3 separate regions of the Homo sapiens genome follow, and regions 2 and 3 are each linked to region 1. Evidence: promoter capture Hi-C in human tissues and cell types (Jung and others, 2019). All regions are on one chromosome and are shown on one strand. The core of a region is centred on a gene start or on the middle of the fragment in contact, and the rest is flanking DNA. Distances in the headings are between cores, read along the strand shown. Region 1 holds the start of WDR4 (WDR4 tRNA N7-guanosine methyltransferase non-catalytic subunit). Region 2 overlaps SLC37A1 (solute carrier family 37 member 1). Region 3 overlaps LINC01671 (long intergenic non-protein coding RNA 1671).

The links. Contacts are between HindIII fragments. The study calls those that stand out against the background at their distance.
Region 2: a fragment that was not itself captured here is called in contact with the fragment with the promoter of WDR4 in region 1 in 1 of the 25 tissues and cell types used here (spleen).
Region 3: a fragment that was not itself captured here is called in contact with the fragment with the promoter of WDR4 in region 1 in 4 of the 25 tissues and cell types used here (bladder, lymphoblastoid cells, mesenchymal stem cells and 1 more).

What each region holds. Positions count from the first base shown.
Region 1 is chr21:42,877,423-42,881,098 of GRCh38, forward strand. It overlaps WDR4 (WDR4 tRNA N7-guanosine methyltransferase non-catalytic subunit), which reads right to left and starts at 2,117. Exons shown (of 11, transcript NM_018669.6): 1 at 1,985-2,117. The coding sequence starts at 2,073. LOC105372817 (a long non-coding RNA gene) reads left to right here and starts at 2,290. Exons shown (of 4, transcript XR_937765.3): 1 at 2,290-2,333. RefSeq lists enhancers at 179-1,142, 1,143-2,107, 1,760-1,809, 1,840-1,949, 2,020-2,369. The HindIII fragment of the contact is 11,595 bases long and covers 1-3,676 here.
Region 2 is chr21:42,555,963-42,559,638 of GRCh38, forward strand. SLC37A1 (solute carrier family 37 member 1) reads left to right here. Exons shown (of 20, transcript NM_001320537.2): 11 at 2,996-3,127. Among named protein-coding and RNA genes, the nearest start is that of SLC37A1, 44 kb to the left of the region's middle. The HindIII fragment of the contact is 7,302 bases long and covers 1-3,676 here.
Region 3 is chr21:42,598,303-42,601,978 of GRCh38, forward strand. LINC01671 (long intergenic non-protein coding RNA 1671) reads right to left here. Exons shown (of 2, transcript NR_131192.1): 2 at 1,102-2,546. Among named protein-coding and RNA genes, the nearest start is that of LINC01671, 15 kb to the right of the region's middle. The HindIII fragment of the contact is 9,872 bases long and covers 1-3,676 here.

The sequences.
Region 1 (3,676 bases), core at 867-3,366:
CAGAGCCACTGCGCCCAGCCTAACAATGATTTTTAAAAGAGCACTTTGTTAAAAAAAAAAAAAAAAAGTTGATTTTTTTTCTCTGTGGAACAAAAAATATTTGCACACTCATTAAATTAAAAGTTGTATACTTGACAAGAAAACTGTCTAGATACAATATTTCAGGGAACAGTTAACAAACTTTATTTGCTTAATCTCTTATTGGAGTACGTCATACTGCATAGTTCTGTGGGAAAAAAAAGTTCAGTAAAACAAATGAGGGATAAATACTCAACAGGAATTAATATGCTATTCTTTTAGGCACCACAAAATCTATGCGACATGGTTATAAGAAATTACGGGCCGGGCGCGGTGGTTCACGCCTGTAATCCCAGCACTTTGGGAGGCCGAGATGGGCGGATCACGAGGTCAGGAGATCGAGACCAGCCTGGCTAACACAGTGAAACCCCCATCTCCACTAAAAATATAAAAAATTAGCCAGGCATGGTGGCAGGCGCCTGCAGTCCCAACTACTCGGGAGGCTGAGGCAGGAGAATGGCGTGAACCCGGGAGGCGGAGCTTGCAGTGAGCCAAGATCGCGCCACTGCACTCCAGCCTGGGCGACAAAGCGAGACTCCTCAAAAAAAAAAAAAAAGAAAAAAAAGAAATTATGTTCTGATACTGTTGAGCGTTCAGTGGGATTCTGTATACAAATTTCAAAGAGCCATTACTATTTAGAAACATATCTCACCTACCTGAAAGTGTTCCCATGACCCCAGGCACTTACCAACATAAGAATCACCCATTTTCCATACTGAACCTAAACTTCGGTTTATCCCATCCTCACCCCCTGGCACGTATCTTGTACATATTTATAGCCTTTAAAGCGAGTGCACCAAAAAACTTTCCATATGGAACCGTGGACTTGTCTTCCAAGTCAGAAACTCCACCAGCCACTAGAATTTCCTCAAAATGCAAAGACTGAAGGTAAGCAAATCATGTCTAATATATCCACAGCTCACTCTGGCAGATATTAGACCGTGAGTCTCTAAAACAAAATCATCTGGGATATGTGACGGGTTTCTGAGTACAATTTTTGTGAGACCTAACTTAACATCGAATTGGCTTTCTAAAACCAAACGAACAAAAAATATACAGTATATCTGACAGACACGTCGTCCGTTTCAAATATGAAATCACAAATAACCTGGGAAAGGAAACGAGGGGCTGAAACTGACAGCACTACTAATTGCTCCGAGAGTCCTGAGTTAGGACTGTTCCATCAACAAACATTTACTAAGTTAAAAATCCCCTGCGTCGTCCTAGCACTGGCGATACACTAAGGAAGGAGAATAAAATTACGGAAAGCAAAACCCGAGCCGTGCGAAGGGCCACTAGGGAGGTGCGCACTGCGAGCTCCACGTGCACCCTTGGGTTGGGTAAGTGTCGGAGATGACTTGGAGCCCTAAGGAGCAATTAAGGCCAGGTGAGTGGATGCAGGCCGGGAAGAGGGAACAGACAACCCTGCAAAAAGAGGGAGCGCGCTTGGAGGTCAGTGAGCTCGCAGTGAGTAAGCCCCTCCCTTCTCACCAGGGAGACCCGAGACCCGCTTCTTCCCAGTTCTGCAGAGCGTGTTCGGCCGGGCCTTGCTGACTGGTCAGCGTCGCCCCACGTGCTCTACCTACCCGGTCCCCGCCGGCGCCGCGGAGACCGGAAGCGACCCGGCGGCGCTAACCGGGCAAGAACACCGCAGACCAGCCATCTAGTGCAAGGAGCGCGCCGGAGCCGGGGAGCGGACGCCGAGAGCGGACGGCGAAAGCGGACCCTCCAGGCGCAGAGACGCGGCCAGGCCGAGACTGCGGCGGAGGACTCGTGGGCTGGAGCGGAGTTCCCCGGGGTCACCCCAGAGTGGGTGCGACCAGGCGGTGCGGGAGAAGCGGGGTCGCCAGGACCCGACGCGCGCCCGCAGCCTGGTCTCCCTGTTCCAAGACCAAGGCCCCCTCACCTGCTTGCTATGGAGGTGGCCAGGAATCGGCTGCCGCCCCGCACCACCAACGTCTGCCCGCACAACGCCAGTCCCACAGAGCCCGCCATGTACCCGCCCGCCTCACCGCCATACACATGTGCCAGCCCAGAGCCTCTTCCTGTCCGCACCGGTCGGTGACGCCAGGCGCAGACGCCGAGAGATGACGTATACCCCACGTACCGCGCATGCTCAAGGACGAGCCTGCCTTGAGCATGCGTGAAAGGTGCTGTGACCGCCCTCCGGGTTGTGGCTGGTGGCCTTCGGTGTTTCGGGTTTGGCAGTTCACTCACCAAGGTGATCTGATGGAGTGCACTTCGCACGATTCCAAGTACTTGCCTAATGTTCATCCTTTCCTCTAGACGGGGTAGGGCTGGTTCTGGATCTTTTTCCGCGGTAGCTGGAGAGACGTAGGACCTGATGATGGCTACTAGATGCCTGGTAAATGATCCTTCAAGAAGTGAATGAACCGGGGGCCGTGGCTCACATGAAGTCAGCAGTTCGAGAGCAGCCTGACCAATATGGTGAAACCCCGTTTCTACTAAAAGTACAAAAATTTGTTGGGCGTGGTGGCGTGCGACTGTAGCCCCAACTACTTGGGAGGCTGAGACAGAAGAATTGCCTGAACCCGGGAGGCGGAGGTTGCAGTGAGTCGAGATCGCCCCCGCTGCACTCCAGCCAGGGCGACAGAGCGAGACTCTCTCTCAAAAAAAAAAAAAATGTCCAAGATGTGGTCATGGGTGAGGGTGTCTCGGGTGGCGTCAAGTCTGAGGTCGCTAGAAGTAAGCCTACTGAATCTTTGCACTTAGACAAGCCACAGATGCCTTAAAATCTCCGAACTGTAGTGATATTTTCAACCCAAACTATGGTTAGTTTCCAGTGTTCATCCCAAGATCCCCAAAAGCCTCTTACAATCCCAGCATCAGGCACAAAATCTAGGATCTCACGGTCTGTTTTAGATTGGCTTGTCCGGTGCAGCTCCTCTTGATCCAGAGACTTACAAACTAAAAAGATTAATTTTCTCTCCCGTGCACGCAATATATGATGGTGAGCCGGGACCAGATAACCACAATAAATACTTGCATGTGAAAATGAGAAGAGGAGGAGACACAGTAATCACTGGTCCAAAGCAATTCTGAAATCCTACTGGAAGATGTTTTCAGGCCCTACAAGAATAAGAAGTCTTAACCAGGCCCGAGTTCTGCTTCCTGGGAGTATCTCCCCAGGCTGTATCTCAGCACAGCTCTTGCCTCTGCCCTCTTGGGTGTCCCTCCTTTTCCAGCACCTTCTTGGCCATGTTGAAGAATGTGCCCTTTGAGAAACTTTCTCAACCTCCTTCCTGTCATTAGCAAATTGTGAGCCCACAGACCTTTTTTCACTCTAAACTGTTCTGTCCACATTTTGGCAGCTGGTGGTGCTTTGTTCACTACAAGTCCCTTAAAAGCTTTATGGGCTTCTCAAGAATCTGATTCAGGTGCTCTCCATGCCCAAGAAGCCACTCCCACTAGTCTTTTTTTTTTTTTTAGACGGAGTCTCGCTCTGTCGCCCAGGCTGAAGTGCAACCTCCACCTCCCGAGTTCACGCCATTCTCCTGCCTCAGCCTCCTGAGTAGCTGGGACTACAGGCGCCCGCCACCACGCCTGGCTAATTTTTTGTATTTTTCAGTGGAGACGG
Region 2 (3,676 bases), core at 576-3,075, 320 kb before region 1:
ACCCTGGATGTCCCCTTTCCCAGAGTGACCGCTGGGCTCAGTGGGGTGTCACCCAGCCCCTGACCTCCACTCCTTTTCAGACAGAGCTGCTACACTATGTCACGTAGCAGGCAGTTTCTCAGTGGCCTCTTGAAGAGACATGTAAAGAAAGCTGGGGGGCGGGGAGCAAATGTGGGAAAGAGAATGAGGCGCTGCTGTCACTTGGCCACGTGGCGAGCCCGCAGGTCCCCGCGGGCGTTTTAGAGGATTGTCTTGGGGACGGTCGCACTTGCCATCCCTGTAGTCACTTGTCACTTTTCCTCCTTGACGTCTCTGAGGATCCTTCTGATTGGCTGTGGCTCAAGAACTGTTGGGCCCACCAAACGCGGCGTGAGCACGGAGTGGGTATTTGGAGGTTGAATGTGACTCCACCGTGCACTTTGCACGCCAAGTGGGGACTCCACAAATCTCTCTTGTGATGGCCTTTCCCAAAGGGAAGCTGCAGACAGCATCGGGTAGCGGGGTGAGCTTAGCATTTTTAGATAAAGCGATCGTTATTACGCAGTCCCCCCACATGCGTCTGTGTGTATTTTTGTTGTGTGTGGGGGCATTTTAGTAGAGGGAACCCTTTTCTCTTTGAAAGTGTAAGCCCTAAGCGTGGAGTGCACTGGCCACAGAAGCCCCCACACCCACCGGGGGCTCCACAGATCCCATTTGGGGCTCTTGGGACACAGACTGGAAACTGCTTGTTTAGAGGCAGAGGTGCCTCTTGGCCTCCAGCCTTGTCTTGGTCCACCCAGTGGCTTCTTGTTTGCTATGTAAGGAGGAGGCAGCAGCAGCCCCCTGTTTGTTTTGGAAAACCAGCCATGGCCCCACACTCTTTCCCATCTCCTCCAGGAGCAAACAACTCAGGTATGGTGGCTACAAGTCCTGTTTAAGATGAGTGGCTGTGAGCACAGGGCCCGTTCTCAGCAGAAACAGAGCCTTCTGTCTGTCTCGGGGGCTCCTTGCTGCTTAGATAAGGAGCAGAGGGTCTGTGTCTGTGGCTTTAAACCAGCCCAGCAAGTGGACCCTGAAGCACTTTACAAATCCTGCAAGGGCCGTGGGCGGCCTTTGGGCATCTGGGTCCTACCTGAGGCCAAGTAGGTCTTCTGTGTTGACCTGCGGTCACTTCTCTGCGGGTCAGAGGGTGCGCTTCTCCTGGCTAAGCGGCCTCGTTCCGCTTGACTTTTCTCCAGCTGGCTGCATTTCACCCACTGCTGAGCCTGTTTCCTGCGGAACGGCCTGTGAAGTCCTGTAGCCCTCAGCTTGCTATGAGTGGAACTCGCCTGGGGCTGCCCCAGGGACTGCTTCCGTGGGGCTGGGGGAATTCGAGGCTTCTCAAAGCCCCCCGAGGAGATTCCAGTGCTTAGCCACAGTAGAGCATTACTGATGTAGTTTTCTAAACTGGACGATTAGCAGAATTCATGAGAGAAAAGTTTATTCAGAAACTCAAGTCGCCATTCTTTGCTTTCACGTGCCGTGATGGGATTATCATCGGGAGCATGTTAGGCATCTGCACTCAGCCTTGTCATCTTCATTCCAGAGCACCTGACTATGTGGCCACATGTGAATATCTTCATCAGAGACCCGCTCTCCATGCCAGAGTCCTAGCTGTGAAGCCGGGCTTCCTGGGGCACGTAGACGCTGGGCTGCCCCCAAGGCCACCCACTGGGTGCCCACACTGGGCTGCACTCGGTGCCACCTGCCACCCGGTTTCCAAATGTCTGTTTTCCACTGGAAGAGAATTCTAAATATTCTAAATATCAAGGGGCAGGGGAATGTGGAATACATTACCATTTTCTTTTTTTTTTTTAATTAAACTACATTTTTAGTCCAACTTATAACAGGTTATAGTGAGATAAGTACCACAAAGCCTGTTTGATTTTGTGAAAGGTCTGAGATACCTAGAAGCATTTCTTTGTAAGACCTTGAACCTCATAGCTCACTCATGAAGAATATTTTTATTTTATTTTCATTCTTTTTTGAGACAGGGTCTTGCCCGGGCTGAAGGACAGCCGCACAATCACAGCTCACTGCAGCCTCCACCTCCTGGGCTCAGGTGATCCTCCTGCCTCAGCCTCCAGAGCAGCTAGGACTACAAGCGCATACCACCACATTCCACTATTTTTTTTTAGGTCTTACTGTGTGGCCCAGGCTAAGATTATTTTTATGTTATCCTTGCTCTGACTTGAAATCCCACTCTAGGTTGGGGAATCACTCTTCTTTGCTTTAATGAATGTACACTTTGTCCTTTAGGAACGTCTAGACAATCAGAATTCATAAATATCAGAATAGGTGTATTTTAAAATAATGTTGGTGTATTTTAAAATAATGTTATTTCTGGTCATATATGGCCATTGTGAACTCCTAAAAAATGCAGGATCATGTAAAGAATTTCTTATTAGCATTTCGATAAAAATTACACATAATTCCACCACTCGCTGACAACCATTGTTGGCTTAGATTTTAGCTTCTTTCTTTCTAGAAATAGATCCTATAGTTGCCTAGTTACATACGTAGATATTTAAACATTCTTTGAGGTTATAATGACATGCAGTTTTGAATGATGTGTTATTTAATGTGTCATAAGCATTTTCCGTCATTAAAATCTCCCAACCTTTTTTTTACAAGATGTCATTCGTATGGATGTATTTGAATTTTCTATTTTTTCTCAATGATGATGTGACATCCATTTTACTTTATAAGTATCTTTTTACTTTTCAAATTATTTTTTGCCAATAGATTCCTAGAATTTCTGGATCAGAGGATCTGTGTACCTAGCCGTTCATGAAAATGCATGAATGCTAATCATTCTAACACAGTGGCCAGGTGGGAATGTCACCCAGGATGTCTCCAAGGCAGTGGAAGAGAGAGCCGCCAGGCACCCTCGTCATTAGGAAGCCTGGCCCCACTTCACCCAGACTGCCCGGCTGGTAACACCTTTCCTTTTTGTTCCCAATGGATTTGCCTCCAGGACCCAGAGATGCAGTGCCTGCTGCTCTCAGATGGGAAGGGCTCCATCCACCCGAACCACGTCGTCATTCTCCCCGGGGACGGTGGGAGTGGCACGGCCGCCATCAGCTTCACAGGGGCCTTGAAAATTCCAGTAAGTAAACGTGCCCAGGAGGAGTTTCAGAAAGGGCTGCTGTGCTGGCTGTGGGAAGTCTGGTCGGTTGATGATTAAGCTTAAAAAGACATCTGTGGTTGTAGAACCCGGGGATTCGAATCCATAGCCAAAGCTAGACGCTGCACAGTGCTAGCTTCAGGACTGAATATGGCTGCAGTGATATTTGTTCGCCTCATACCATGTTTAAATTTTTTTTGAAATTCGTTTTCTCCATTTAGAAATTCAGGTTCATAGAAAAATGGGGCTCCCTGCCTTCACTGGAAAAACGGAAAGCCTGGCACCCTGGGCCTGCCCCCATGTGACAGGTTGGGGAACTGAGGCCCTGACTACTGTGCCACCTGGCCCCTGTGGCCCGGCCCCTCCCCAGTGCACTTGCCCTCCCACAGGCCTTGAGCGTGAGCCCATGGGAGGCGCTGGCACTGAGTGCTGCGCCGTGGCCTTCGCGAGCCCGGCTGGATTCTCTTTCCCTTTAAAGTGCCTTTAGGCTGGGCGCAGTGGCTCACGCCTATAATCCCAGCACTTTGGGAG
Region 3 (3,676 bases), core at 629-3,128, 280 kb before region 1:
GGAGTGTCCCCTACCGAACTGGGATCTCCGGCTGGCCGCACTCCACGATTGCCATGTGCTTGCCACTCTGCCCCTCTCTGAATGGGGGCTGGTTGCTATTGTCTCTGCTCCCACATTTCATAGTAAACAGGTAGGAAAAGTGAATGACTTGTCTTTCCACTTCATAGGTCTCCAGTCCAGAAAGGGCCTGTCCAGACCCGCTGAGGACCACTGGACACCACCCACAATGGAGAGACCACCTAGATCGCCAGGGCAGCCGTAGCACTTCCGGCAGGACTGGTGGGAACTTCAGGTAGGACTGGCGGGAACTTCAGGTGGGAGAGAGAGAATGTTCTTCATACGTGAGGGGAAGAAGCTTGACCTTGGGATGGCCATGTGATGTCAGCACTGGTCAGTTACTTCTGGTTTCTCTACTCTGGGAGGGTGGCAGTGTGGTAGGCGGGTCCCCAGGAAACAGACTCAGATTCAGACCCTAGCAGGCAGGAGGCTCATCGTGAAGTTCCCTTGGGGTCAAGGGTCATGGAAAGGAGGCAGCAGAGGATGGCACAGGGAGAGAGACGGCAGCCTTGAGCCCCCATGGAGAGAGAGAACCATCCCATCACGCTTGGCCCAAACAGCCATGCCTGACCTTCCCTAGGGGTCGTTCAGGCCTCCTCTGCGGCAGGTGCTCTCTGGGAGCACCTGCCTGTTACACACAGATCTTTGCACCTCCTGCCCACTCCCCCACGTCCAACCCATGCCTCATCCCTGACTGCCCATCCCCACTCTCCACATCGCTCCCATTCTGGGTTCAGCCGGCAAAGTCGTTGGCCATTGCCCATGGGTTCAGAGATCTTCTAACCTCACAGCCACTTACACAGAGGGGATGACCACTGGGAGAATGTTCCCTCATCACCCTCTGTGTTAGTCCGTTCTCACATTGCTATAAAGATACTACCCAAGACTGGGTAATTTATAAAGAAAAGAGGTTTCATTGACTCACAGTTCTGCATGGCTGGGGACGCCTCAGGAAACTTACAATCATGGCGGAAGGGGAAGCAGGCACGTCTTACGTGGTGGTGGGTGAGAAAGACAAGTGCAAGCAGGGGAATTGCCAGACACTTATAAAACCATCAGATCTCATGAGAACTCCTTCACTATCACGAGAACAGCATGGGGAAAACAGCCCCCATGATCCAATCACTTCCCATCAGGTCTCACCCTCATCACCTGGGGATTACAGTTCAAGATGAGATTTGGGTGGGGACACAGAGCCAAACCATATCACCCTCTTTAAAGGGCAGCTTGCTGAGACTGGAGTATGGCAGCCAGGCGATTTGGGCTGGCCCCACAGGCAGAGCAGACACCTCCATGAACTGAGGCCGGGCTTGTCCCTCCCTCCTCAGTTCACCAGAAGGTTCCTCCACTGGGGCTGTGGGGACTGCTGTGGAGGGTGGGGGGGGGTACTGGGCAGCTGCCGCTGCTTGGCCTCCTGCTCCTGCTTCTGCTGCTGCCACACGCACACTCCCACCTGTGATGGGTTATTTCTGAGTCCCCAACCTCATGACCCAGGGGTGAGACAGAATCCAGCTCATCTGAGCAGTTCCACATGCACAATCAGGTATTCCATCACCCCAGGCCCCAGGAGCACATCAACAGGGACTTTTCAGAATTTTTCGCAGAATCCTCTGCCGCAGATGGCACGGCTTTGTTTCTGAATCCCAGGGGCCTGCACTGTGATTCTGGCATAGTGGTTTGCCATAAACACACAGCATTGCTTTCCCACGTCTGATACCTCTCATAACACAGGGTCCGACCAGCTGCAGGGCCTGAGTCACAGGGCTGCCAGCACTGCAGCCTCGACCTGCTGCAGGCTCAGGGAAGGCCGACAGCTTCTCCTATCAATGGTACATAGGCTGGAGTAGTCTTCATGTGTGTGGAACGTGCTGCCTCCAGAAGGCGTACTGGCATTGTCTGTCTCTCTTGGTCATGGGAGATGCAAGATGCAGTAATTGGCTCTTTGCTGTGGACAGGAGGCCCAGTATGCTCCTGGTTATGGGATATGGGACCTCCCCACCAAGAGTGTTATTAGTGGCAGTTCCCAGAATCTTTGTAGGATTTGTCTGCCAGCTGCAGGCACTCAGGCATCTTACCAAGACTCCCAGTGTGTTAGCTGCTTCTTGGTTAGCACCCGGCCAGCGCAATGTAATCAATGTGGTGGGCCAGTGCCATGCTCTTTGGGATATCCAGCTTGTCCAGTTCTCTCTGGGCTTCCTTAGGGCATAGAATACATGGTTTATTAGCACATAACACTGAGGCAAAGCCAAGGTCCACTGTTATTCATCCTATGTGAAGGCAGGCTCTTTCGGATGCTCTTTCCTCGTAGGAATAGAAAAGAATGCACTTGCCATCTCAGTGGGGCAGAGCACACACCTGAGGCTGTGTTGATCCACCTTGACCGAGATCCCGCGCCTGGCAGGGCAGCTGCCGCTGTGGATTCTCCTTGGTGCAGCTTGCTGAAGTCCACTGTCTTCCTCCAGGAGTCTCCTATTTCTGCAGAGGCCAGCCTGGTAAATTAAATAGAGATACATTGAAGACCACCACCCCTATCCTTCAGCTCCTTAAGAGTAAAACTGAGTCACAACAGCTTGCATAAATCCTGTTTAAACATTTCAACTTACATAATCCTATCAACTTTTCATTTGTATGCTGTGGTCCTATTAGGGGTGGAAAATATCTGAGTCTCATGGTACCACATATGTTACCAGTGGAGGTATCCGAGTTATTGGCAGTGAATCCTTATGGGTCTGCAGCAACCTCAATTCTTGCCTCCTCAGAAGAAAGAATTAGACTGAGGGGCATAAGGCAAAAAAAGACACCAAGGCAACTTTCAGAAGAGGAATGGAAGTTTCTTTCAAAAGGCTTTAGAACAGGAAAGAGGCCGGGTGTTGTGGCTCACGCCTGTAATCCCAGCACTTTGGGAGGCCGAGGCGGGTGGATCACGAGGTCAGGAGATCGAGACCTTCCTGGCTAACACAGTGAAACCCCGTCTCTACTAAAAATACAAAAATTAGCCGGGCGTGGTGGTGGGCGCCTGTAGTCCCAGCTACTCGGGAGGCTGAGGCAGGAGAATGGCGTGAACCCGGGAGGCGGAGCTTGCAGTGAGCCGAGATCGCACCACTGCACTCCAGCCTGGGCGACAGAGTGGGACTCCGTCTCAAAAAAAAAAGAACAGGAAAGAAAGAAAACACACTTGGGAGAGACCCAAGTGGAAGGTCGAGTGCAGTGGTCGACCTAGGTTAACCATGATCCTAGGACTTTCCAGGCTGGCCCCTTTCCCATGGTTCTTCCCTTAGGATGGGCTGCCCGCATGCACATGCCCCCCTTACCCTTGGGAGGTGAGCACACACAGTGTGTTTAGGAAGTGGTACGCATGCCCCTCTGAGGCTTTCTTCCCTTTTCCTGTGGTGTGCCCCTGGAAGGTCACATTCTGCCATTTTGTTTCTTAATGCACATGGCTGGGAAGGTGCTTCTCCCTGGCGCCTGCATTCAGTGAACACTTTAGTGCAACAGGTGTAGACCATCAGGAAATGGCCTCTCACTGGTGCCGGCTGCCAATTTATCCCTTTTAGAGAGACAATGTGATCATTGCCAAAGCATCACCTGACGTTCCTAGTGGGTGGGAGAAGAGCTCTCT